Linked DNA regions of Homo sapiens: region 1 is linked to region 2. The links are contacts of gene promoters, found by promoter capture Hi-C in blood cells and fetal thymus (Javierre and others, 2016). All regions are on one chromosome and are shown on one strand. Each heading gives the region's core, a stretch centred on a gene start or on the middle of the fragment in contact. The rest is flanking DNA. Distances are from core to core; before and after follow the strand shown.

What was found. Contacts are between HindIII fragments. The CHiCAGO score rates a contact against its expected background, and 5 or more counts as called.
Region 1: a contact is called between a fragment that was not itself captured here and the fragment with the promoter of CREB3L4 in region 2, in 15 of 17 cell types (total B cells, naive B cells, monocytes and 12 more). The highest score is 14.5, in total B cells.

Annotation. Positions count from the first base shown.
Region 1 is chr1:153,850,517-153,858,224 of GRCh38, forward strand. The region is part of intron 1 of GATAD2B (GATA zinc finger domain containing 2B); the gene reads right to left. It also overlaps the pseudogene LOC645965. Among named protein-coding and RNA genes, the nearest start is that of GATAD2B, 69 kb to the right of the region's middle. The HindIII fragment of the contact is 1,477 bases long and covers 731-2,207 here.
Region 2 is chr1:153,964,247-153,969,151 of GRCh38, forward strand. It overlaps CREB3L4 (cAMP responsive element binding protein 3 like 4), which reads left to right and starts at 3,656. Exons shown (of 10, transcript NM_001255978.2): 1 at 3,656-3,918; 2 at 4,276-4,453; 3 at 4,684-4,905. The coding sequence starts at 4,280. It also overlaps a transcript of SLC39A1 not described here. RefSeq lists enhancers at 1-78, 2,942-3,798, 3,233-3,452, 3,663-3,772, 3,803-3,922 and a silencer at 3,413-3,914. The HindIII fragment of the contact is 4,469 bases long and covers 249-4,717 here.

The DNA.
Region 1 (7,708 bases), core at 219-2,718, 120 kb before region 2:
CTCGAACTCCTGACCTCAAGTGATCCGCCCACATCAGCCTCCCAAAATGCTGGGATTACAGGTGTGAGCCACTGCGCTCAGCCTAATAAGCCCATACTTAATTTTTAAAAAATTGTTTGTTGGCCAGGTGCGGTGGCTCACACCTGTAATCCCAGCACTTTGGGAGGCCTACGCAGGCGGATTGCTTGAGGTGAAGGAGTTTGAGACCAGCCTGGCCAACATAGTGAAACTTCGTCTCTACTAAATAAACAAAAATTAGCCAGGCGTGGTGGTGTGCGCCTATAATCTCAGCTACTCAGGAGGCTGCGGCAGGAGAATCGCTTGAACCTAGGAGGCGGAGGTTGCAGTGAGCCGGGAACGCGCCACTACACTACAGCCTGGGTGACAGAGCAAGACTCCACCTCAAAAAAAAAAAAGTTTTTTTTTGTTTTATTGTGGTAAAAACACTTAACACAAGATCTACCCTCTTAACAAATTTTCAAGTGTACAATACATTAATGTTGACTATAGGTACAGTGTTGTATGGCAGATCTCTAGAGCTTTTTCCCGTTTGACATTAATTTTACATACATTGTTTAGCAACTCCCCAATTTCTCCTCCCCCTCAGCCTTTGGCAACCACCATTTGACTCTGTCAACCTATGAATCTGACTAGATACCTCACATAAGTAGACTCACATAGTTATTTATCTTTCTGTGACTGTATTATTTCCCTTAGCATAATGTCCTCAAGCTTCATCCATGTTGTCACTCTTTGGGATCCTGATTTTATTTTGGATAAATATCTAGAAGCATGATTGCTAGACCATCTGGTAGTTCTATATTTAATATGTCAAGGAACCTCCATACTGTTTTCCATAGTGGCCGCTTGTACCATTTTGCATTCCCACCAACAGTGTGCAAGGGTTCCAATTTCTTCACTCCCTTGCCACTTAAAAAAAATAGCCATCTTGACATTGACAGGTGTGAAGTGATGATATTTCATTGTGGTTTTGATGTGTACTTCTCTGATGATTAGCAATGTTGAGCAATTTTTCATATACTTGGCCACTTTTATGTCTTCTTTGGAGAATGTCTATTCAGGTCCTTTGTCCATTTTTTTTTTAATCTTACAGTGAATTATATTGAATTCAAAGGTAGTATTCCTATTTGAGAAATAAAAAACTAAAATCAAGTTGTACAAGCAATCATCATGAGATAAATCAGTAAAGAGGCCTGCTCAGATCATACCAGAGCAGACACCAGTTTCTACCCCAGCCCGCATGAAGATGTTTTTATTCAACACAAACAGTAACAGAGGGTAACACAATGGCCACAGAATGAGAACATAAGTGCACTTGAATTTTTTGTGAGTTCTGGCTAGGCTCTAACAAGCCTAGCATTCTTTTCTTACCAGGTGAACAGAAATCATCTGCTAAAGCCAGAAACTTTAAAGCTCTTAATCCAGCTGGAAATAACTATAATTGAGGGCCTTTTTACTAGCTACTTGCTTCCCAATTTAGGGTTGCCTAGCAGGGTTAATTTCAACATAACGAAAGGTGTTAACTGGCTGGCCGCATCATTCACTGGTGACAGGGGCAAGTTTAATGAGTTTTGTGCTCAGATCGCTGGGCCTCCTGGCTGCTCTTGTCCATCTCTGCACTTTGGTCCTAAGCATTCTGAGACTCAGTCAGTTGAGGGTGAAAGGGACCTACCAGCCAGTTGAGGGGCATGTTGTTAACAAGAAATCCATCAAGTCATCTAAAGATTCCTTCATTTTCTGCAGCTGCCCCTTGCTAGAAGTGGAGGCTGTCAGACACTTCCTCAAAGGAGGCAGCATTGCAGAACACTGAGTAGATGTCGCCTGCCATCACCCTCATATGCTTGGCCTGACCTTGGATGTTCTGTGGTCATCATGGATGTTGGACAGAAGGCCGTGGCATGTGGTCTGGAGCTGCTAAGTCAGGTTGCAGGCAATAGCAAGAGTACGTGACTCGATGTGCTCTGCACAGTGGGACTCATCAGTATCATCGTATCCAATATTCCTTTTCCACTCCACCCATGAGAGCTAGAGCTTATCCTGAGCATCCTGAATTTTCTGATTGGCACTATGCACACTCTTCCTGGCAAATTCAATCAAGTGAACAGAAGAACGGAGCTGAGAAATGGTCTCTTGGCTTTTTTGCTTAGCTTCTTTAACCCTGCTGAGAGCCTGCTCATACGAAGTGAAGCTTGGTAGACAGGGAGTGAAGCTTGGTAGACAGGGATCCCAGTCTAACATAACAACTTGGCTTCTGAACCATATCATATCCTTCAACTTTTTTTGCTTCTTTTTCTAGTTCTTCCCCAGTGAGAGGGAGGTACTGTCCTACCAAGAGCTCTGATTTGGTGAGCGCATGTTCCAAGCCACTGCTCATGAGCTGCATTATCTGACTTCCTAAGCTTGTGTTAATGCTGCCACTGACACAGACTTGGGTCTTCTCCACAGTGCCAGTCACTACCCCTTTGGTCTTGTCCATCAACCCTGTGATGAATCCTTGGCCCCAGTCACAGTAGTCGTCACAGCATCTTTTGCCCCAGTCACAGCACCTTTGGCATTGGCAACAACCTGAGTTGATGGCTGATTCAGAATAGGCAGTCTCTCCTCAATCCTGTCTAGCCCCTTACAGACACGGATATTGGCAACTGCAATTTGCAGCTCTAGCTTCTGGATGATGGGCAGAGCACACTGGTCATGGCCACCGAGGTGATGGTCTTCACACCCTTCCCTGCCATCTCACACACAGACTTCAAGTAGGACACTGGTCCTTTGTACTGACATGGGCTGAGGACATGGGGTCATATGTGGAGCTCATCAAGGGCAGGTTGACCACCCGAGTCATCACACTCAGTTGTGGATCAACTGCAACAGATGCCATTTTTCTTCCTGGAGAAATAAATCAACGGACGGCAGTGAAGCGCCTATTTTTTAATATACATATATTTTTTGCTACTGAGTTGTATGAGTTCCTTACATATGTTGGAGATTAACCCCTTATCAAATATATGGTTCACAAACATTTCCTCACATTTTGTAGATTGCCTTTCCATTCTGCTGTTTGCTGTGCAGAAGCTTTTTAGGTTGATGCAGTTCCACTTGCTTTTGTTGCCTGTGTTTTTGATGTCATATCCACGAAATCATTGCCAAGACCAATGTCATAATGCTTTTTCCCTGTTTTCTTCTTATGAGTTTTATAGTTTCAGGTCTTATGTTTAACTCTTTAATCCATTTTGGGTTGATTTTTGTGTACAGTACAAGATAATTTCATTATTTTGCTGTGGATATCCACTTTTCCCAACAACATTTGTTGGAGGGACTATCCTTGCCCTATTGATCCTTTCCTTATTGTATATTCTTGAGTCCAAACATAAATTTTCAGGAGACATTCCCATCTACCCCCAGCCAGAGCCCAAGCTGAGACACAGAAGTTTCCTTGTTTCCTCAAACTAGTAGATGGAATTTTCTGTGGTCCCTTCCTTTCTCTTGAGTATGAACCTTCAAGGCTCCCTGCTTTATATAGAGATTTGCATTTCTAACTCTGTTCCATACAGGCCTAAGGCTCATGGACATTAAAACGAAGCCTTTAGGCCAGGCACGGTGGCTCACACCTGTAATCCCAGCACTTTGGGAGGCTGAAACGGGCGGATCGTGAGGTCAGGAGATCGAGACCGTCCTGGCTAACATGGTAAAACCCCGTCTCTACTAAAAATACAAAAAAATTAGCTGGGCTTGGTGGTGGGCACCTGTAGTCCCAGCTACTCGGGAGGCTGAGAGAGGAGAATGGTGTGAACCCGGGAGGTGGAGCTTGCAGTGAGCCGAGATCTTGCCACTGCACTCCAGCCTGGGCGACAGAGCAAGACTCCGTCTCAAAAAACAAACAAACAAACAAACAAAAACCAAGCCTTTCAGTAACTGAGACTAGGCAAAGCACCCAGAAATACCACAGCATTAAGTAACATGCATACTGCTCATTTTCAGTTCCTCTTTCATTTGCAGTCCCTGAGAATTTTCCTTAATTCTTTCAGGCTCAACTAGCTATACATTTTTAAAAGTTTGTTTAAAAATTAAAAAATAGTTGTTACATTTCATCCAGCATTACTAGGTGTTTTGTAATGAAATAGCAGAAGTGTTTTAGGTTATATAGTCTATTATACTGCCATTATAAAATATGCTGGTCTGGAAATTTAACATTTATTTTCATAAGAACTAGTTCAGTTCATATAAACAAAATAACTCCACAGACGACTAATTGCAAAAGGAAAAACACATCTTAACAATGGAACAATCTTGCTGTTACCTTACCGTAGGGATCAAACTTTTCACTGCAGGCATTGAGACAATTAACATGGAAACAATCTGACAAATCTACAATGTGGAACATATTTCAAATCAATGAGCACGGTCTCTTCAAAAAAGTTGATATAAAAAAAAAGAGGTGGTGATACAGACTGTTCTAGGTTAAGAGAGACTTACAGACATAATCAAATATAATGTATAATCTTTGATTGAATCTTGGTTTAAACACAGCTACAAAAGATACTATGGGGAACTGGGTAAATTTTCAAATGGACTAAGTATTAAATAATATTAGGGAATTATTATTAATCTTGTTGGTTATAATGGTATTGTGGTTGAATAGGAGATTGTCCGTATTTTTTTGAAACGTAACTGTAGCATTAGCTTTCTTTTTGTTTTTTTTTTTTGTTGTTGTTGTTTTTGAGACAGAGTCTTGCTCTGTTGCCCAGACTGGAGTGCAAGATCTCAGCTCACTGTAACTTCTGCCTCCTGGGCTCAAGTGATTCTCTCACCTCAGCCTCCCGAGTAGCTGGGATTACAGACAGGTGTCCCCACGCCCGGCTAATTTTTGTATTTTTAGTAGAGACAGGGTTTTCCTATGTTGGCCAGGCAGGTCTCAAACTCCTGACCTCTAGTGATCCACCCACCTTCCCCCTCCCAAAGTGCTGGGATTACGGGCGTGAGCCCAGCCTACTATTAGTTTTCTATGGCTGCTATAATAAATTACCACAAATTTAGTGGCTTAAACACAATACAAATTGTATTACCTTTCATTCAGAAAGTCATTAAGTCTAAAATGGGTCTAATTAGGCTAAATTCAAGGTATGAGTATGGCTCCTACTTATTTTATATATTTTTTTTTTACACAGGGTCTGGCTCTGTCACCTGGGCTGGAGTACAGTGGCATGATCTCGGCTCACTGCAACCTCTGCCTCCTGCAGCTCAAGCGATTCTCCCACCTCAGCCTCTGGGACTGGGAGTAGCTGGGACTACAGGTGCGCATCACCACGCCCAGCTAATTTTTGTATTTTTTGTAAAGATGGGTTTTTGCCATGTTGCCCAGGCTGGTCTCGAACTCCTGGCCTCAACTGATTCATCCGCCTTGGCCTCCCAAAGTGCTGGGATTACAGGCATGAGTCACCGTGCCCAGTCAGCTCCTACATTTCTTCTGGAGTCTCTAGAGGAAAATCCATTGTCCTGCTGTTCCCTGCTACAGACAATCTACTCTGCTGGGTTCATGGCCACTTTCCTCATCTTCAAGTATCAGGCCTACTCCTCTGACTGCCAACTCTTTGACACTCTTCTGCCTCCTTTAGGACCCTTATGATTATATTGGCCCACCTGGATAATCTAGAATAATTTCCACATTTTAAGGTCAACTGATTAGCAACCTTAATTCCATCTGCCATCTTAATTCTCTGTTGCCATGAAACGGAACATATTCACAGGTTATGGGGGCTGGAGTATAGACATCTTGGGAGAAGGGGCATTATTTTGCCTACCACAGCAATCTTAAGTATTTAGAGGTGAAAGTCTAAAACTTACTTTGAAGTGGTTTAGAAAAAATGTTTATGCTATATATCAACAGCATATTGGTATGTGCCAAGCAAATATGGCAAAATATTCACTGCTGAACAAGATGGTAGTTACACAGCTGTTGCTCGTACTACTCTATTTTTCTATATGCTTAAATATTTTCAATTTAAAATTTAAAAACTAAAAACATTTAAAACTTTAAGATTAAAAAAATTAAAACAAATAAGCTGAACACAATGGATTCCTTTTTCTAAAAATGTCTACTGAGCACGGTAGCACACACCTGTAATCCCAGCACTTTGGGAAACTGAGGTGGAAGGATCACTTGAGGCCAAGAGTTCAAGATCTGGGCAACATAGCGAGACCCCCATCTCTAATAAATAAACCAACTAACCAAAAAAAAGAAAGAAAGAAAAAAGAATGCCTTTAACTTGACCACTCAGAACTGGAAAGTAATGTGGCAGAACATGGACAGTCCATGACATTTAATTGAGCAGTATGAAATGCAAGTAGCCTAGCCCTCCAGATACTATGGATATGGTTACTTGTTGGCTTGTAAGGGATTAAATTCCTTTTTGCATGCAGATGATAGGGTTTCATCTGAAGACTGAAATGATTATGTTAATCATCACAGCCCTATTTGCCTTGGGGAAAAAACATATCAGATAAGAAACCTGGACTACTATGTCTTCCTTTTGTATGTAAAAAGGAATAAACAGTATGCTTTATAATTCCTTATAAAGCATAACTTAAATATACATATGCATATGCATATATATATATATATATATAAATTGGCCGGGCGCAGTGGCTCACACCAGCAATGCCCAGCACTTTAGGAGGCCAAGGCAGGCGGATCACCTGAGGTCAGGAGTTTGAGACCAGCCTGGCCAACATAGTGAAACCCTGTCTCCACCAAAAATACAAAATTTAGCTGGGTGTGGTGGTGCGCACTTGGAGTCCCAGCTACTCGGGAGGCTGAGGCAGGAAAATCGCTTGAACCCGGGAGGCGGAGGTTGCAGTGAGCCAAGATCGCGCCACTGCACTCTAGCCTGGGCGACAGAGGGAGACTCTCAAATGTGTGTGTGTGTAATTATAACTTGCCTTTGATATAGTGTCCCTTCATAGAAAACGGATGCCCTTTTCTACTGTAGGCACTAATTAAATTAGTGGCACCTGATAAACTTTTCACATTGATAAAATATGTAAAACTTAGTCACTATATTCACTATAGTCCCCTTATCAAGTTAGAAAGTGGGAGGTAAAAAAGGAGAGAGAGATGTCTCTGGAATGGTCCTGGAACATGAGTCCTTAAGATATTTATAATCAAGAAGCGCTGAAATCATCATCCATTCTTACATGTGAAGAAGAGCTCCTTTGTAGTTTGCCTTCTGCCACAGGAGACATCAATCAGCCAGAGGTCCAAGACCTGTTTACCCCTACGTAATGTTTTTTAAAACTCTGAATTAGATAATCCAACAAGACCTTCTTTCTGAAGGCTGGAAGCAATAAGAACTTCCATCTCATTGAAGAGGTCAAGTGAAGATTCTTTTGAAATCATTCAGTTTTGAAGCACCTACCTAGTATTGTAAGAAATACAAATAATTTGACAGTGAATTCAAGGATAATATAGTAACTGGAGAAATCTGGAGATGCAATTGCTCTCAAATAGAGAAGAGGCCCAGTAACAAGAATGTTAAAATGTGGCTGACTTCAAGAATAGGATCAAGGTCTCAAACTAGATAGTTCTGAATTCTTCCCCCTTCCTATAAGGTTGTTCTTTCTTCTGCCTGGTGAGTTATGGGAGAGTGACGGGATATCCTTCCTTCCAATCTAACTTATTTCTCTTCTTATAGTC
Region 2 (4,905 bases), core at 2,406-4,905:
TCTGGCCGGTTCTCCCACCTGATTTCCAGCCCAGCTCCCGCCACCCTCGCCGGTCGGTTTGCTGTTTGCTGTTCCTTGAATGCCCCAAGGTAGTTGTTTCAGCTCAGGACTTTCACCGTTTCCTCAACCTGGATTCTTGTGGCCCACAACTCTGTGCCTTGAGAATCCTCTTCTAGCCTCAAGGGACGGTAAGACAAAAGAAAATTTAAAAAGGGGGCTCAGCTGTTCTTTTATGCAAAGGTGAAAAAAGCTTCATTGCCTAAAGAAGGGACAGATGGGATCTTGCTTCCTACAGGAAAATTAATTTTAAAAAAGAAAAAAAAAAGGGGGGACAGTGTAATGCTTCTCACAAGGCTCCAGAAACGAAGCCCAGTAATTCCTTAAGTAAAAGAGGAATGTGAAGACTTCTTAAGGGGCCGGGCGCGGTGGTTCACGCCTGTAATCCAAGCACTTTGGAAGGCCGAGGATGAATCACCTGAGGACAGAAGTTCAAGACCAGCCTGGTCAACATGGTGAAACCCCGTCTCTACTAAATATACAAAAATTAGCCGGGCGTGGTGGCGGGGGCCTGTAATCCCAGCTACTCGGGAGGCCGAGGCAGGAGAATCGCTTGAACCCGGGAGCCGGAAATTGCAGTGAGCCGAGATCGCGCCATTGCGCTCCAGCCTGGGCAACAACAGCGAAACTTCGTCTCAAAAAAAAAAATTATTCGTAATTGGTAACATTAACAAGGAATTATGACTGGGGGGGTCAGGAAACCTGGATTCTGGTCCAAGTTCTACCTTTATAGTTGTCAAATATATATATTTGTTTATTTATACACATACATATGTCATATATGATTAATAATTGTATATATTTATGGTGTACAACATGATGTTTTGAAATATATGTACATTGGGCCGGGCGCGGTGGCTCACGCCTGTAATCCCAGCACTTTGGGAAGCCGAGGCGGGCAGATGACGAGGTCAGGAGTTGGAGACCAGCCTGCTCAACATGGTGAAACCCTGTCTCTACTAAAAATACAAAAATTAGCCAGGCGTGGTGGCGCATGCCTATGATCCCAGCTACTCAGGAGGCTGAGGCAGGAGAATCGCTTGAACCGGGGAGGCGGAGGTTGCAGTGAGCCAAGATCACACCTCTGCACTCCAGCCTGGACGACACAGCGAGACTCCGTCTCAAAAAAAAAGAAAAAAGAAAAGAAATATATGTACATTGCAGAATGGGTAAATCAAGCTAATTAACATATGCATTACTTCACATATTTATTTGTGATGAGAACATTTAAAATCTCTTGGCAACTTTATTTCTTTTCTTTTTCCTTCCTTCCTTCCTTTCTTCTTTCCTCCTTTCTTTCTTGACAGAGTCTTGCTGTGTTGCCCAGGCTGGAATGCAGTGGCATGCTCTTGGCTCACTACAACTTCTGCCTCCCAGGTTTCAAGCAATTCTCCCGCCTCGGCCTCCCGAGTAGCTGGGATTACAGGCGCCCGCCACCACGCCCGGCTAATTTTTGTATTTTTAGTAGAGACGGGATTTCACCATGTTGACCAGGCTGGTCTTGAACTCCTGACCTCAGGTGATCCACCCGCTTCAGCCTCCCAAAGTGCTGGGACTGCAGGTGTGAGCCACCACACCCGGCCCAATAGATCTCCTCAATTTTACCTTACCTTGATGTATGATTTTAGGCAAGTCAGTTTTCCTCACCAGAGTTTGATAAATCAGGGGCAAGGAGGAAGTTAAACAAGCAGATGACTGCAGAGGGTCCTTCCAGTTCTAACATCAACGGAAGCTAACTACATTCCCCACTCAAATCATCTCTGCACATACAGCCCGCAGGAAGCCCTTTGAAATGTATTTAACCACCTTTCTCGCTCTCAGAATGATCTCAACAAGAACAGCTTTGCTTTCCTTGGAGCTCTGCATCAATCTAGGAAGGCTGCTTTGTCTCTTCACTACTTGAGCAGGATGGAGAGATATGAGCGGGAAAGACAGATAAGAAATCTGAGAAAGCCCCACAAGGTGGGTTGATAGTGTGAAGAACATGGGCTGAAGCATCCAAATCTTGGTTCAGCTACTTACAGGGTAACCTTGAGAAAGTTACTTAAACTTGTCAGCTCGGACGGGCGTGGTGGCTCACGCCTGTAATCCCAGCACATTGGGAGGCCGAGGTGGACGGATCACGAGGTCAGATCGAGACCACCCTGGCTAACACGGTGAAACCCTGTCTCTACTAAAAATACAAAAAAATTAGCTGGGCGCCTGTAGTCCCAGCTACTAGGGAGGCTGAGGCAGGAGAATGGCGTGAACCCGGGAGGCGGAGCTTGCAGTGAGCCGAGATCGAGCCTCTGCACTCCAGCCTGGGCCACAGAGCAAAAGAAAAACAAACAAACAAACTTGTCAGCTCCATCTGCTGTAAGAATTATATGAGTAACATGGAAATGCCTGACTAGACCCTGTTCCCGTTTTTACCCTTAGCCCGTTCAAATCTTCATAAGGATAATTAGTAGCAGTTTGAGTTCTGGGATTCACACTCCAAACTACTGTTTTACTCACCCAGCTACCCTTTTCTGAAATACTACTGAAAACCATACCTGTATCAGTTTACCTCCATTGTTTTACTTGAAGTGAATTCCTGGACCATCAGACATTAGACCAAGGCAAAAAAATAAAAATAATCAATCAACCCTGAGTTTTGGTATTACTACTTTCTAGTCATGGATCTGCCTCCTCATAGGTAAAATTTGCAAAATATTACCCGCCGTGTGTGCCTCAGAACTGTTATGGATTAAGGAAGAGAACAATTTTTATGAAAACGTTTTGTAAATTATACAAGTGTGGGACATAATGTTCCCGGTAACTGTATGCAAACAATAAGACAACAAACGCAAAAGGCTTTTTAACTTGTTGCAGTTTTCCTGCCCCGTGTCCCTCCGTGAATGAGCAGCGTGCAGCGAGCGTGTGCGCACAGCTGCTGTTCTCCATTAACGCCACACTGCTCGGCTTGCGGACGGGGAAACCCGCCATCGCGCTCCTGCCGCCTGCCGAGCGAGGATCACCGCTCCACTGGGGTCAGCGGGCTGTTGACTCCCCGCCTGGGTGAAACCGGAGCTTCCGAGTCACGTGGCGCGCGAAGACAAACCTGGCTGCTCAGGGTTTCCCGGAGCTTTCTCCCAGCTTCCCGGCGATTCATATTCTGGCGCTTACCCCTCCCTTTAGGCTGGCGGAACCCAATCCCCGCCTGACAAATAAGTCCCGCCGGCCGGACGCAGTGGCTCGCGCCTGTGGTCCTAGCTGCTCGCGGTGCTGAGGCGGGAGAATCACCTGAGCCCGGGAGGTCGGGGGCTGCATGGAACCGTGATCGCACCACCGCACTCCAGCCTGGGCAACAGAGCGAGACCCTGTCTCCAAAAATAAGAATAAAGAAAAAAAAAAGAAAGAACTGCGGCCCCATTGGCCTGACTCTCCTGAACAGCCAAACTGTCTCCGACCAGTTACGGAAGAGGCGGCCTTGAGAGGGTAGTGTGCCATTGGCTCGATGTCCTGCCCCTCCGAAACCTAAGTCTTCAGCTTCCAATCAGGACTCAGCTTTGGGAAGAGCGCCACGCGGTGGGCGAGGGGATGCCCTAGTAAATTCGCAGGTCTCTTGACTCTTTCCGCCTTTGTTTACAACCCTGCCATGATCTCCCTCTTGCAAAAGCGAGGGCTACAGAACAGGCATTCAGGAGTCCTGTGCTCCAGTCACAGCCTTTTCTGTTCTTCAGCTAGGAGACACCAAACCCTCAGGAAGATTTACTATAGCTAAGAGAAAACTGCAGCAGAAAGGGCGCGGCTACCTACTTCTTAAATTCCGTTTGTGGACCCTCAGACTCTTAGTCCCCTACTCCCAGATACAGCGGCCCTACCGTGGCTCCTGGCAAGGTGGCATCCACTTTTGTAGTGTAAGGCTGGGGGCGGGGTTTGGCTGGCAGGTCCAGGATACGAGATCCTGGAAGAAAGAAAAGGTGTAGTGTTTGGGGAGGTCAACGGGCTATGCTGGCTTGACAGGGCTGGGCTCTTCAGAACAGGTAATGCTTGGGGGGGGCCTCTTTGTCTAAACCTGAGGGATAGGGCTGAAGGTGAAATATCGAGGGGACAGGTGAGGGGGCTTGCTAGTGAGGAAGGAGTGGGGGGGCGGGGATAATGGAAAAGGGAGCAGAGGAGCCCAGAAACTGTAGGGGGTAGTAAGCAGCCATCATTCCGTTTCTGCAACCCTCCGTCCCACACGCCTTCCTGCAGAAGCATGGATCTCGGAATCCCTGACCTGCTGGACGCGTGGCTGGAGCCCCCAGAGGATATCTTCTCGACAGGATCCGTCCTGGAGCTGGGACTCCACTGCCCCCCTCCAGAGGTTCCGGTAACTAGGCTACAGGAACAGGGACTGCAAGGCTGGAAGTCCGGTGGGGACCGTGGCTGTGTGAGTGTGACGAGTGGGAGTGGGGGTGGGGTTGAGACACAACTCTGTGATAAGAGGCTTCAGCTCCCACTTGGAGACAGGTCTGAAAACAGACCACCCCCAAAATAGACGTAAGTTGTATAATAACTGTCTCCATGCCCAAGAAGTGAAAGGACTGAAAATGAAGCATAAGTCAGGGAGGACTTCCAAAATTCTTCCCTGCACATATATATAACCTTTTCCTACTGTAGGGCCTTCAAGAGAGTGAGCCTGAAGATTTCTTGAAGCTTTTCATTGATCCCAATGAGGTGTACTGCTCAGAAGCATCTCCTGGCAGTGACAGTGGCATCTCTGAGGACCCCTGCCATCCAGACAGTCCCCCTGCCCCCAGGGCAACCAGTTCTCCTATGCTCTATGAGGTTGTCTATGAGGCAGGGGCCCTGGAGAGGATGCAGGGGGAAACTGGGCCAAAT